Regions from separate parts of the Homo sapiens genome. Here regions 2 and 3 are each linked to region 1. Evidence: promoter capture Hi-C in 16 types of primary human blood cells and fetal thymus (Javierre and others, 2016). All regions are on one chromosome and are shown on one strand. Each heading gives the region's core, a stretch centred on a gene start or on the middle of the fragment in contact. The rest is flanking DNA. Distances are from core to core; before and after follow the strand shown. Region 1 holds the start of EFR3A (EFR3 homolog A). Region 2 overlaps IADEN (IGF2BP1 associated definitive endoderm lncRNA). Region 3 overlaps ADCY8 (adenylate cyclase 8).

Region 1 (4,059 bases), core at 1,252-3,751:
CTTCACTGGATTCTAGTTATTAACAACAGTTTCAATGAGTACCAATATTCCAAATAAGCAACAAAATAGCAAGAGTAGAATAATTCTATGACTTACAGCAAGGGTTGCTCTCGGAATTGTAGAGTCTGAGAGACCACAGTGATCACCTCCAACCCTTTGATTTTAATTAAAACTCGTACGGATTAACTGGCTTGGGCTTATCACTAAGCCTCTCAACCATTTAACATTAAAACAACCAATCAAACAAAAACACTTAGCTTATCTGAGCACAGTTTTCCTCCTAAGAGCTGTGAACTTCCTCCTAAATTCCTACAGAGAATAACAATTTTGCCATCTCTGTGTTGGATATATATTCTACAAACAGAATTTCAAAGAAATATTGTTGTCCACTGCACTATCCCAGCAATTTCGGCAGCTGTGACTGCCAAAGGAGAGAAAAGGCAAATATGAACACTATTCACCTCACACTGGTACCCCCAATCAATCCACAGCACATTTTTATTCAGTCATAAAAAATGTACCATGACAAATATTAACAATGACAGATAAAACAAACATTTCACTTGTCTTCCAGTCAGGGTGTGAAATCTGCATTCTTAACTATGTAAACTCCACCATGGCCCATCCTAAAATCATTTTGCAGAATGAACTCAACATTTGAAAAGAAACGAGTTTACTATATCCACTCTGTGAAGCTAGATAACCCTAGAACATAACTAAAAATTTTATTTCACAGGATAATTCTGGCATGTTACCAATAAATTCTACTTGAAGCCTCAACTTTCAATAGGTGCTTACCTCCTCCCCTTTGGTTTCTCAGAAAATAAAAGATTAGCATAGTGCTAGTCTCAGATATTCACTGAATAACGTGAACATGAATTTAGAAGTACTAAACTGGCAATAACAATGAAGATGATTGTAAATGATATTCCTCCAGCCAAAAGGAATAAAACAGAAATTTAAACTGGACATATTTACTGGATGCGAAGTCCAAGAACGTGAGTTAAGGACACACAGTAGTGTGTGAAGAAAACAAAATCCACAGTACCCACACATGTATGAGGAGTTAAAAGTAATCTCTACATCAGGACTATGTAAAGATTTGCCACAGGAAAATCTTTAAATCTCAAAAAGATATTTAAATATCTTTAATATCAATTTAAATTTAATATCCTTAAATATCAGGAAAATATCAATCTTTATAATATCAAGAAATAACTCATCTTTTCCCACCACTAGACGAAACGTGCATTGGAGACTGACCTGGAAATTCAGCGTCCCAGATGGCTACAAAACAAGGACAACTAGAAGTAGTTATGAATTCTAGGAAATATATTCACAAGTGTGTAAAGATTCTATAGTATTGAACACTTAGTCAAAGGAGTCCTACTTGAATTCTCAAATCAATGACAAAGTTGCTTCCTCTCTACCCAAGATCAGGAGCTTCCCTAGTTTGCACATATCCACATTGACCAGTGGCTATAAAGTCACACTGCGATTATCTGGGTCATTTTAAAATAGGTCATTAGCAGTACTTGTAGTATCGCGTCTGTCTAAAAATCCTCCAACACCGAGTGACTTTTAAACTTTGGGGTGCCTTGGTAACCCCAGGGACGCTTATTAGACATGCAGACTCCGGGGCCCAAGCTCCAGACTAATTCCATGGGAATAGGGCGGGTCCCGAAACCGGCATTTTTAATCATCTGCCCGGGTGAATCCGAAGTGTGGTCCAAAAGCCACAGTCGAGGTGCCTCTGCCTAACAAGCTCCACAGAAAGCTCCGACTTCAGCCGCCCCGACGGCGATACGGACGCCGAGTTAGGCTGTCGGGGGTCTGTCTGGCGGCCGCGGGAAGGGACTCGGGGCCGGCGCGTCCACTAGCGACGTCCGGCCCGAGGTGAGAAGGGACTGACAATGGTACCGCAGTTATTTTCAATATTTCCATAAAGTCCCACGAAGCCGTGTGGCCGTGGGAAAAGGGCTTTAACTTTGAAATCCCACGGGTCAGGTTACCACCAGCTCTGCCGCCTCCTAACAGCGCGTCCCCGCAGTTCCCTTAACGTTCGGGCCTCAGTTTCCCGATCCGTGCAACGGGCTCACGCCATCTCCGGAAGGCTAAGCCGAAACGAAACTAACTCCGCCGCTCGCAGACACTTCCTGGCTCTGCTCAGCGCGGCCCAGCCTCCCCAGCCGCCCGGGAGGAGTACCCGGCCCAAGCGCGTCGCGCAGGCAGTCGCCTCCCAACGCCCCCGGCCCTCGGCCGGCCACTCACGGGTAGGCATGGCGATCTCGACCGCGCTCGCCGCCGCACCGAGGCTCAGCGGGGCCGCGCAGGGAGCGCCGACGGCACCATGACGGCCGTTGCTGGGCCGCGGAGGCCGGAACGAGGCGAAGGGCGAAGGGCGAAGGGTGGAGGGAGCGGACGCGGACCCCGCGGTCACGCAACCAAGCGGGCGACAGCTACCGCCGCCAGCCCACTCCTCGCCGGGCGGCGCGACGGACGACCCACGCCCGTTACGTCAGCGCGCCGCCGCCGTCCCGGCCCCGCCCCCGCGGATGGCCGGGCTCGGCCCAGGATCCCTTGTCGAGCGGGTGGAATGGGTGGCTGGGGACAGCCACGTAGAACAACTTCGGGTGCCTTCTATTTTCCAAGCCTGGTGACCTGCGTGGCATTCGTTTTCCTTGATCTCTATTTGGAGTGCATCACTTTACGTTTGTGAGGATGATGGCTTTGAGCGCACGGAGTACCTGTGGGCTTTTTCTTTTGCAATCGGTTTAACTTGCAGTGCGTTTTGCATACTCTGAAAGCATGGTTTATTTGAGATGCACTAAGGTCATTTGGGGTGATGGCTGCTCATTTTTTGAGAGGGCAGAAAATGTAATTTCCTTTTGCTCTTGTGACTTTCAGAGCGACCTTATCCCTCAGGAGTTAGTCTCCTCTGGAGAGGGCAGCTCTGTGCACTTGGCTGAGCTACTCTTCTTGACTCTGGGTGTCATTAATAATTGAGGTATCTAATAGTCACCAAGCTGAGCAGACACCGGGAGCCAGAGAGCTGAGCAACGCACCTACACTATGCTAGGCGCCGTGGGCTGCGGACAGCCCATATGGAGATATAAAAGCCAACCGCAGAGGTTTAACACAGCCTTCCTCAAAGTGGGTCAAAGTGGTCCAGGATCCTTTTGTGCTTGGATCCCCTGGGGACTTGTTGAAAAGCAGATTCCTAGGTGCTGAGCCAAATCTACGAACACATATACAGATGATTTAAATACAATGATAATACTGAGAACCTTTGTCCTAAAAAGTAGGGCTAACCTTCTGATTAAGAAATGATATTGTGCAGTACTGGGAGGAGAAGATGAAGAACATGAAGATCAGAGCTAGGAAGCGCTGAGGAGAAATTAGTCTTGGCTTGAGGTGGACTTGGAAGAAAGCAGAATTTGAATTAGCAAAGCCTAGGGGAGTCCTAAAAGAGGCTGGGGAGAGGATGAAGGGTAATTTAGAGTGAGTCATGGCAGCTGGGGAGAGGAGAGTGTGTACTGTACCTATAAAAGAGACTGTCCAGCTGGGAACGGTGGCTCACGCCTGTAATCCTAACACTTTGGGAGACCGAGGTGGGCGGTGGGCAGATCACCTGAGGTCAGGAGTTCGAGATCAGCCTGGCCAACATGGCGAAACCCTGTCTGTACTGAAAATGCAAAAATTAGGCGGGGGTGGTGGCACATGCCTATATTCTCACTCAGCTACTTGGGAAGCTGAGGAAGGAGAATCGCTTGAACCCAGGAGACGGAGTTTGCAGTGAGCCGAGATCGGGCCACTGGACTCTAGCCTGGGCTACAGAGCAAGACTCCATCTCAAAAAAAAAAAAAAAAAAAGAGAGACTGTCCCTTGCTAACAGTAAAGACCAAACTACCTAGTGCTTATTCATGTTTTAATGCCCTGTTGCATATTTTATCACCTATAAAATCTTTCATGCTTCCAGTTTTCTCCCTAAGACTTTGGCATTATCTTGATTCCTCTCTGCTACAGCACTTTTCTCACTGCATCCTAAATAAACTGTCA
Region 2 (4,293 bases), core at 124-2,623, 590 kb after region 1:
AGACACCCTGCTTGCTGTTTCTACTCTTAGATCCACTTCAAACAGGCATGACTGCCTTCATTGTGAGTCATTTCCCTTGATTATTCCAATTACTGCCTCATGGAAATAATTATATTAACATTTATTTTGGAATATTGTCCTCTTTTCATATACATATATATATATATATATATATATATATATATATATATATATATATATATATTATTTTTTTTTTTTTTTTTTTTTGAGATGGGGTCTCGGTTGGCTGCTCAGGCTGGAATGAGGTGGCGTGATCTCAGCTCACCACAACCTCCGCCTCCTGGGTTCAAGCGATTCTCCTGGCTCAGCCCCTAGAGTAGCTGGGACTATAGGCGTGCACCACCATGCCCGGCTAATTTTTGTATTTTCAGTAGAGACGAGGTTTCACTATGTTGGCCAGGCTGGTCTCAAACTCCTGACCTTGTGATCCACCCGCCTTTGCCTCCCAAAGTGCTGGGATTACAGGCGTGAGTCGCCGCGCCTGGCCAACATTGTTTTTTACTTCATTCAACATCCTCATTGTTTTCTTTCTTCTTCAAGACCAACCTTGTCCCCCAAGGAATGTAACATCTTTCCTTTTTATCTTCCACCATTGCCTTGACCCTAGACCCATAATTTTAAATCTTTTTCCTTTGTTCACAAAGTATTACAATTTTGAAGTGCAATTATTTTGAAGCTGGAGGAAAAAAAAATGGCCTCTTTATAATTAGAGGTCTAGATTTCTGGGGCCAATGCACTTACGTAGAAGGAGACATAAATAAATAAAGTGACATTCCTATTGTCATGGTGCTTATGTCCTTGAGGGGAAAACAATCAAAAAGTATGGATCAGACGGTGAAAGGTGCAAAGAGAAAAATAAAGCAGAGGAAAGGACCATAGAATGAAAAGGTGCTAGTGTTAGCCAAGATCTCTGTGAAGATAAACCATGCGGGTGCATAGCAAAAAAAAGCACACCATGCAGTGTTTTTGCATAGATAATGCAAACACCCTAAGATAGGGTGTGCTTACTGTGTTTGAGGAACAGCAAGGTACTCGATAGCTGCGTCAGAGGGACAGTTGGAGGAGGCATAGGGGATAGGGCATGTGACTTGAGAGGTAGCAGGAATAAAGGAGACAATGGGTCATTTTAGCAATAGTTAGAGCTTTGATAGAGTGCAGTGTGCATTGGAGCATTTTGAGCAGAGGATTGACTTAGGCTGCTCTGAGAAGCATAGACTACAGTGGAGCAAAAAGGAAATGCAGAAAACCCATTAAGAAGACTGTCACAATAATCCAGGTGAGACATGATGGTGCTTAGACCCGAGCGGCAGCGACAGAGTTTAGATAAGTGATTGGATGCTGTGTGTATTATTTCAAAGTTAACAGTTGTAAAATTTGCTCATGGACTGAATATGGGAAATAGAGAAATTAGAGGAACCGGTTACTCAGAGTGTTTTACCCGAGCAAATGAAAGAAGGTTTCCTTTTCTTGAATGGATACGTATATAAAAAATAGATTTTTTTGGTGAGGGGTGGGGTGAAAAGAGTTTGTTTCACATATGTTAAGGTAGTGATTCTAGAGGAACATCACACTGGGGCTGCCAAATAGACAGACAGTCTGATATACATGTAGAATTAAAGAGGGACGTCAGAGCAAAATATATTACTTTGAGAGCCATCAGAAGAATATTGATGTTATTTAAGGCTGTGGCATTGGATGGGTAAATCTAGAGTGTGTGCACTGATTGCAAAGAGAAGCCAAAGGGCTGAGTCCCAGGACATTCAAATTAAAGAGGTCAGGAAGATGGAGAGCACACAGAAAAAGTAAAAAAGAAGGAGCAGTCAGCAGGTGAGAAGTAAATCCAGAGGCAGTGGGACCCAGAGGCCAAGCAAAATAAAGGTTTCAGATAAGCAATGGAGACATGGAGTTCTCAGAAGAAGCACCTTGGTGAGATGCCTTTCACAATTTTAATATTGTAATTGTGTTTCTCTTCCTTTTTGTGCTTAATATAATCAAGAAAGTAAAATTATTCATCAAGTAATTCACAAGCCACATTTTTAAGAGTTAAAGTGGAGCCTAACTGAAAATATTTTTGCTGGGCAGTTAGGAAACTAAGTTATAGCCCTTGGTTTGGACAAGCCAGGTTTCCTCTTGTGCACTTTTGGACTCACCATGTAGATAGCTCTTCGCTCAAAGAATGAAGACATAAAAGTGGGTGATATCCAAGCTCCTAGTAGGTAACATAACGACTAGTCTACCGTAAGTGCCCAATAATGACTGAGTAAATGAATGAATAAACAGGCAAATAAATGTTCTTTCCAGCTCTAAGATTTTATTATTGGCATTGCAACTCCCTTTCCTGTTAAGAAACATGGGCAGGACTGGGGTGAAACCACATCAGCAATTGCAGCTCTTTTTCGTTTATTCCTAGTGGCTTGCCTATAGAGACACTTAATTATTTATACTGCCTTTAGGAAGTGCAACTGGGCTCTGCTGCTGTGGATGCCGTTTCTGTTATTATTAGTCTCAGAGCTATTTCTTATTTCCTCCAGCACAATGAAGGTGGTGAAATAAGTAACCACACTTCCTTTTCCAAAGCCGCTGAAGTGCTCAGCTCAGCAGTAGTCAGACTCCTCCAGCATTTAATGAGAACTATGAAAGACCTAATTTCCTTTGTTGTCCTCAGTTCCCTTGACCTCAGATAATCAGATAAGCAGCAACACAAGAGGACCGGTGAGTTATTTCAATGGTTTCTCTCCAACATTTTTTTGTTCATGTGCAATCTGAGCATGACTATGATTTGTTGTTGTTGTTGTTGGTTAGCCTTTTCTCAAAACTGACTAGGCTGTAGCATTCCATTACTTTTCTGAAAAAAACAAAAAAACAAAAAAACAAAAAAAAAACAAAAAACGAAAAACAACCATTCAGCACCTGCTAGATATTTGTTGCTATAGGGCTAGGAATCTTCATTTTGTTACTTCCTTCTTTCCTCTTTCCCTACCCTTTTTTTCTAAAACTTTTGTTCCACCATTTTCTTATTTTCTTTTGATCAGAACACCAATTTAAACTATGAAATACACTAAGGCCTCAAAATTGATTAATAAATGTTAACTTCATGGTTCAATGCTATGCACAGTGTTTATAAACGTTAGACCACACAGTCCCTGTAATGGAGATAAATGTACTCCAGTTTAAAAGGAAATGTCAACATATCTGCTATTCAGGTGCAGTGATCATTATTTGATAAAATATTTAATTTACCCAGTATCTGTTGAGAACAAAATTCCACATTGACACTAATTGTAAATGGTTGGCACTCTATGGGTTCATGGTTTAGTGAAAGAGGTTTACATATAAGTGTATTCTGTTGCAAAGTTGACAGACACCAGTGTAGATGTGTAAAACAACGTGGATAGTGAGAGTGAAAAATATTTTATCACAGTTAGATCTTCAGTTAGAATGTGAAGCAAGGACATAGTTTCAACAGGCAGGTATGAGTTTGTGAATTTTCAGTGATAGACTAGCTTAAAAAAATACCAGCGTGATAGGCATAGAGGGAAGGTTTTTGAAAAGACATATCATCCATGAACACATTTTTTTGTAGCAAGTCACACATTGGCAAAAGTGAGCAAGGCCCAGAAGATGCAACGTTCAGGCTGAGCAGTATGTACGGGGGTAAAGAGGAGTTGGTATTTCCTGAGCACTCACTGTGTGTTATCTTTATTTAAGACTAAGGAAAGTGATATGGGGAGTTTATGTGATTTAGCCAAGGTCACAAAGTTAGTGGTTGAAGCATAATTCAAACACAGCTTATAGTTTTTCTAAAGACTATAACTAAAAATGTGTGTGCTAGCACTAAATGTATGTAACTAGTTACTTAGCACGACTGACTTTTAGGATCAAAAATAAAGAATTAGGTACAACTATACATCTCTGTCTATGCAGAGCAAATACTGAACTGAATTAACTATCTGGCCAATCAAGGAACAAGCTTGATCATGCTCTGTCTCCCTCAGTATCCTAGATCCAACTACCTGAAATCACCAGTGAATGAGATTTTTGAAATCCTGTACTATTTACATAATTGAGATCTTGCTTTTAGTGAGAAAACACTGATTTTAGTAGATTCAGTGTGTTCCATAAAAGCAGAGGTAGGCTCCAGCGCAGCCCTCAATTCCACGATCTCTTATAAAGGTCAGGGAGAAGGAAGAACATCTAGCATCAGGAGGCAGGCTGACTTGGAACAGAACAGAAGGCTGGGAGCTAAGGAGGATCTTCAGCAACTATCGTAAG
Region 3 (3,923 bases), core at 753-3,252, 880 kb after region 1:
TAGGTGCTTAGTCCACTGTTTCCTACAGCTTAAAACCTGTCACATAAAGACCATATTGTACCCTAACTGGACCAGTTTATCTACAGACTTCTAAAAAGCAAACCAAAGTCAGATTTTAGAGAATGGAACTCAAAGCAATTAACTAAAACTGTCTTTATAAAGTCCCAAAAACGGTCATGAGTCTTTTTAGTTCTTTTTTTTTTTCTGCTAATTAGTTCAAGAAAAAAAATCACTAAGAGCAAGCTGGTTTTCTTCTAAAGTCAAATCTCCCACACCCTCATTCATCGGGTGAGCCTTCCCAGCCTATTGGAGGCGGGTAGTTCATTTGAGAATGAGTTCATGGCCCCAAGTGGTCAATGTGCAGTGACTACAAAGTCTCCTCTTTTCTATTTATGAGAGATATATTGCCCTTGGCTCTTGCCAGGTGAATTATGACATGATACGCAGCTCTTTGGGCCCTGCCCAAGCCATCTCAGCCAGAGAGAAGCTGTGCCAATGGACAATGAAAGATATTTTTGAAACCATGTAAGTATATTTCCTTAAAAACATAGAAAACACAAATTCTCCTCCTGTTTTTGCTATGGGTTTTTCACAGCAACTTTGGCTTCAGCTTCTTTGGGCCAAAATTTCTTCATGTCTAAAAGAAGGATAGTTCAACACTCCTGACCCAGTTAGATATTCCTCCTCTGAGGGCATGGCCCTTTACCTGCCCATTTATCCTGCCTCATTTTGCAGTGCTATTGGCTTCCACATCTCTCTCACCAGCTGGGCTGTGAGCTTCACAAAGTCTGGGGTGGCATCTGGGTCACTGTTAAGTCTCTACAGCATAGTGTAGTGCTGGTTACATACTCTTCTTTCTCAGGTTCCTCCAGGTCTTGTTTTTCAATTCACCTCTTCAATGTTGGGGCTCCTGAAGTTTCCGTCCTATATGACTTCACATTATCTCACTCCACACCACTCCCTGGATAATCAAATCCCTCCCTCAGTCAGCAAGTATGTATCTTTGTGCTGCTAACTCCTAACCCTGTATCTCTACCCCAGTTTTATCTGCTAAGCTTAAGACCTGGCAATCTGGAGACCTACTGGATACCTCCATTGAGGCAGCCCAACCCCAACAAGTAACAATTGACTCCATCCCGTCTGATATCTACATGAAATTCTGATGGTTTAGTCTTCCATTGCTGGGGTCTGTCCACAGCTCTCTATCCTGCTCTTTCTGTTCTAGTGCAGCCCCACCCCCAAGATTCATCAAGCCACCCCATGCTCCGCTGAACCACCCCAACACTCCCCAGTGGGAGCTTCTCCCATATGCTAGCATTCTCACCACTTCACTTCACTGGGTAAGTTCTACTGTTGAACCTCATCACCAGTTTTCTTCATATTCCATGCTGGCTTCTGCCTGTGTGTGTTTTCTAGGACAATTGTTTACCTTCCTTGCCTGGCAATATTCAAGTGTCACCACTTCCTGGAATTCCTTCTGTACCCCTTCTCCGGGACAAGTACCTGCTTAAGAATAAGTGGGGTGTGTTTAAATGGAGAATTGTGTTTGTTTGACTTTGATAATCTAAGCTCATGTTAGGTGTTTAAGGAAAGGAGGGGCAGAGAGATAAGCAGAATTTGACAAAAAAATGAGCAGTCCTTCAAGCATGACTCTCAATGAGACAGAACTGTATTGGAGATTGCTATATGCCAAACTTAACACACTTCCCAAGGAAAGAAAAAAGCATAGAGTTCATAGCACAGGATGTGGATTCAGACTGCCTGGGATTGATCTGCAATTTTTTCATTTTATAACACTGACAAGAGCCTCAATCTTTCTGCACCTCACTTTCTTCAGCTGTAAAATGGGAATAATAATAATAGCTCAGGAGGTTGTTGAAGAGATGAAATAATACACATGGAGTATTTAAATCAGAACCTGGTAAAGAGGAATCAGGTAATACATTTCATTTGATTTTATAATTTAAGTTTTAAAACAATCACCCTTTTTCAATGAGTTCTCTGCCCTAAGCTGACAGTTTCTGGGCTTCACCTGGCTTAACCCCTGCATCTTTTAGACCAGTGCTTCTCCAACTTTAATGTGAATAGGAATCACTTGGAGATCTTGACAAAATTTGGATTTAGGAGGAGGACCCTAGGTTCTGTGTTTCTGACAAGTTGCCAGGTAATGGATGCTTGCAGTCTGCAGATCATAATTTGTGGGAAAGGCTTTGGAGTTTGGCACAGACCCCACCTTCTCTTCAGTGGGTCCCTGCTACTCCACCAGGTAGATTTAGATCCCTGTCCTCTAATTCACTTATATTATTGAACATTCAGGCTTCCATAGCAATATACCATAACTGACTGACTTGTAACAAACAAACAAAAAAAAACATTTATTTCTCATAGTTCTGGAGGCTGGGAAGCTCAAAATCTAAGCACCAGTAGATTTGGTGCCTGGTGAGGGCCTGCTTCCTGGTTCACATGGCCATCTTCCGACTGTGTCCTTGCAGGATGAAAGAGACAAGGCAGCTCTCTGAGGCCTTTTTTCTAGACACTAATCCCATTCATGAAGGCTCCACCCTCATGACACATTCACCTCCCACCTCTTAATTCCATCACCTTAGGGTTAGCATTTTAACATGTGTATTTTGGAGGGACACAAACATTCAGACCATAGCAACATTCTTCCATCATTCATTAATGCATGCTTTCATTTAGCCTCATATGGCGAATATTTATGGAGTACCACAGTGTGCTGCATGCAGGCAGTAGGGGTGCTGTGGTGAGGAAAAGAATCCAGGATCCTGCTATTAAAGAGATTATAATCTAGAGTTATAGACAGTCATCCATCAAATAATCACCTAAATAAGTGAATGATTTCAAACTGAGTTAAGGACTTTTAAAGCAGGTTTGATGTGGGGCCATGATTAGTTGAGAAAAGTGAGGCATCCAGGGTACAAAGCTTACAAGAAGCACTTGTTCTCAGGGGCTGACCCTGCACTTGTGCAACCCTGCGAAGGAATAATTCCTGAAATTGTGTGCTCTAGGCATTCAGCTTGCACTCATTTCTATTTAAAAGGAAAATCCTGACTAGACCTGAGATGAGGAAATTATTCTTAATATCTACAGGAAGAATTCATGTTAGCAGGTAAGATTGGAATTATGTTTTATTTATTTGTCTCTACTGTTAAACAACGTGCTCTTTGAGAGCAGGGTCTGTCCTTTTGTATATCACCGGAATGGACACTGGCACATCACGCGGGAATCTCATATCAGAAGCTTGTTGAGTAAATGCCTGAACAATCATATTCGCATCAGTATTGCTGTTTCCCTTTTTATAGTTGAGGATGCTGAACACAGAGTTGTTACAGCATTTCCCTTTGGTCATATGATGAATACGAGATTTCATCCACAGCTATCTGATTCCAAAGCTGCCCTCTAGATTTGATGCTTCTTTAAGGCCACTTTATCTCAATAACTATGCTCATTTCAGAGGCAATAAGATTAATAAAGAAAAAGAAAAATGAAATGTACCTTGCAAATAGTAGCAATGTTTATCATGATAGTTATCACTATCATAGATAGAGCCAAGGGGATAAGCACACTGTATTGAAAACAACACCTGAATAAAGGGTCATCAAAAGACCCACCTCAGATTTTACATACAAAACAGTGCAACTTTCTTCAAGCCACTCAGCCTGTCTTGGCTTCAAAATGAGTTTCTGATAGCTCTAAAATTCTATGACTATGAAATGATTTCTGAGTTTCCTTACAGCTCTCAAAAATTTTATTCCATGAGTTATAATGAATGTGCATGTGGGGATTGGTATGCTTTCCCCATTTATTTGCCTCCCAAGATCAGATAATGACAATTCTTATAGAACACATAACTTGTTGAGGTCTTTGACCTCTGAGATTCTTAAGAAGAGAATTATGAGTAA

What was found. Contacts are between HindIII fragments. The CHiCAGO score rates a contact against its expected background, and 5 or more counts as called.
Region 2: a fragment that was not itself captured here is called in contact with the fragment with the promoter of EFR3A in region 1 in 1 of 17 cell types (monocytes); the score reaches 7.3 in monocytes.
Region 3: a contact is called between a fragment that was not itself captured here and the fragment with the promoter of EFR3A in region 1, in 1 of 17 cell types (M0 macrophages). The highest score is 5.6, in M0 macrophages.

What each region holds. Positions count from the first base shown.
Region 1 is chr8:131,902,535-131,906,593 of GRCh38, reverse strand. It overlaps EFR3A (EFR3 homolog A), which reads right to left and starts at 2,501. Exons shown (of 23, transcript NM_015137.6): 1 at 2,272-2,501. The coding sequence starts at 2,281. RefSeq lists an enhancer at 1,505-1,554 and a silencer at 2,125-2,604. The HindIII fragment of the contact is 8,534 bases long and covers 1-4,059 here.
Region 2 is chr8:131,315,907-131,320,199 of GRCh38, reverse strand. It overlaps IADEN (IGF2BP1 associated definitive endoderm lncRNA), which reads right to left. Exons shown (of 2, transcript XR_007061185.1): 2 at 2,313-2,866. Among named protein-coding and RNA genes, the nearest start is that of IADEN, 5.6 kb to the right of the region's middle. The HindIII fragment of the contact is 5,241 bases long and covers 1-3,993 here.
Region 3 is chr8:131,024,830-131,028,752 of GRCh38, reverse strand. All of the region lies in intron 1 of ADCY8 (adenylate cyclase 8), which reads left to right. Among named protein-coding and RNA genes, the nearest start is that of ADCY8, 14 kb to the left of the region's middle. The HindIII fragment of the contact is 1,889 bases long and covers 1,058-2,946 here.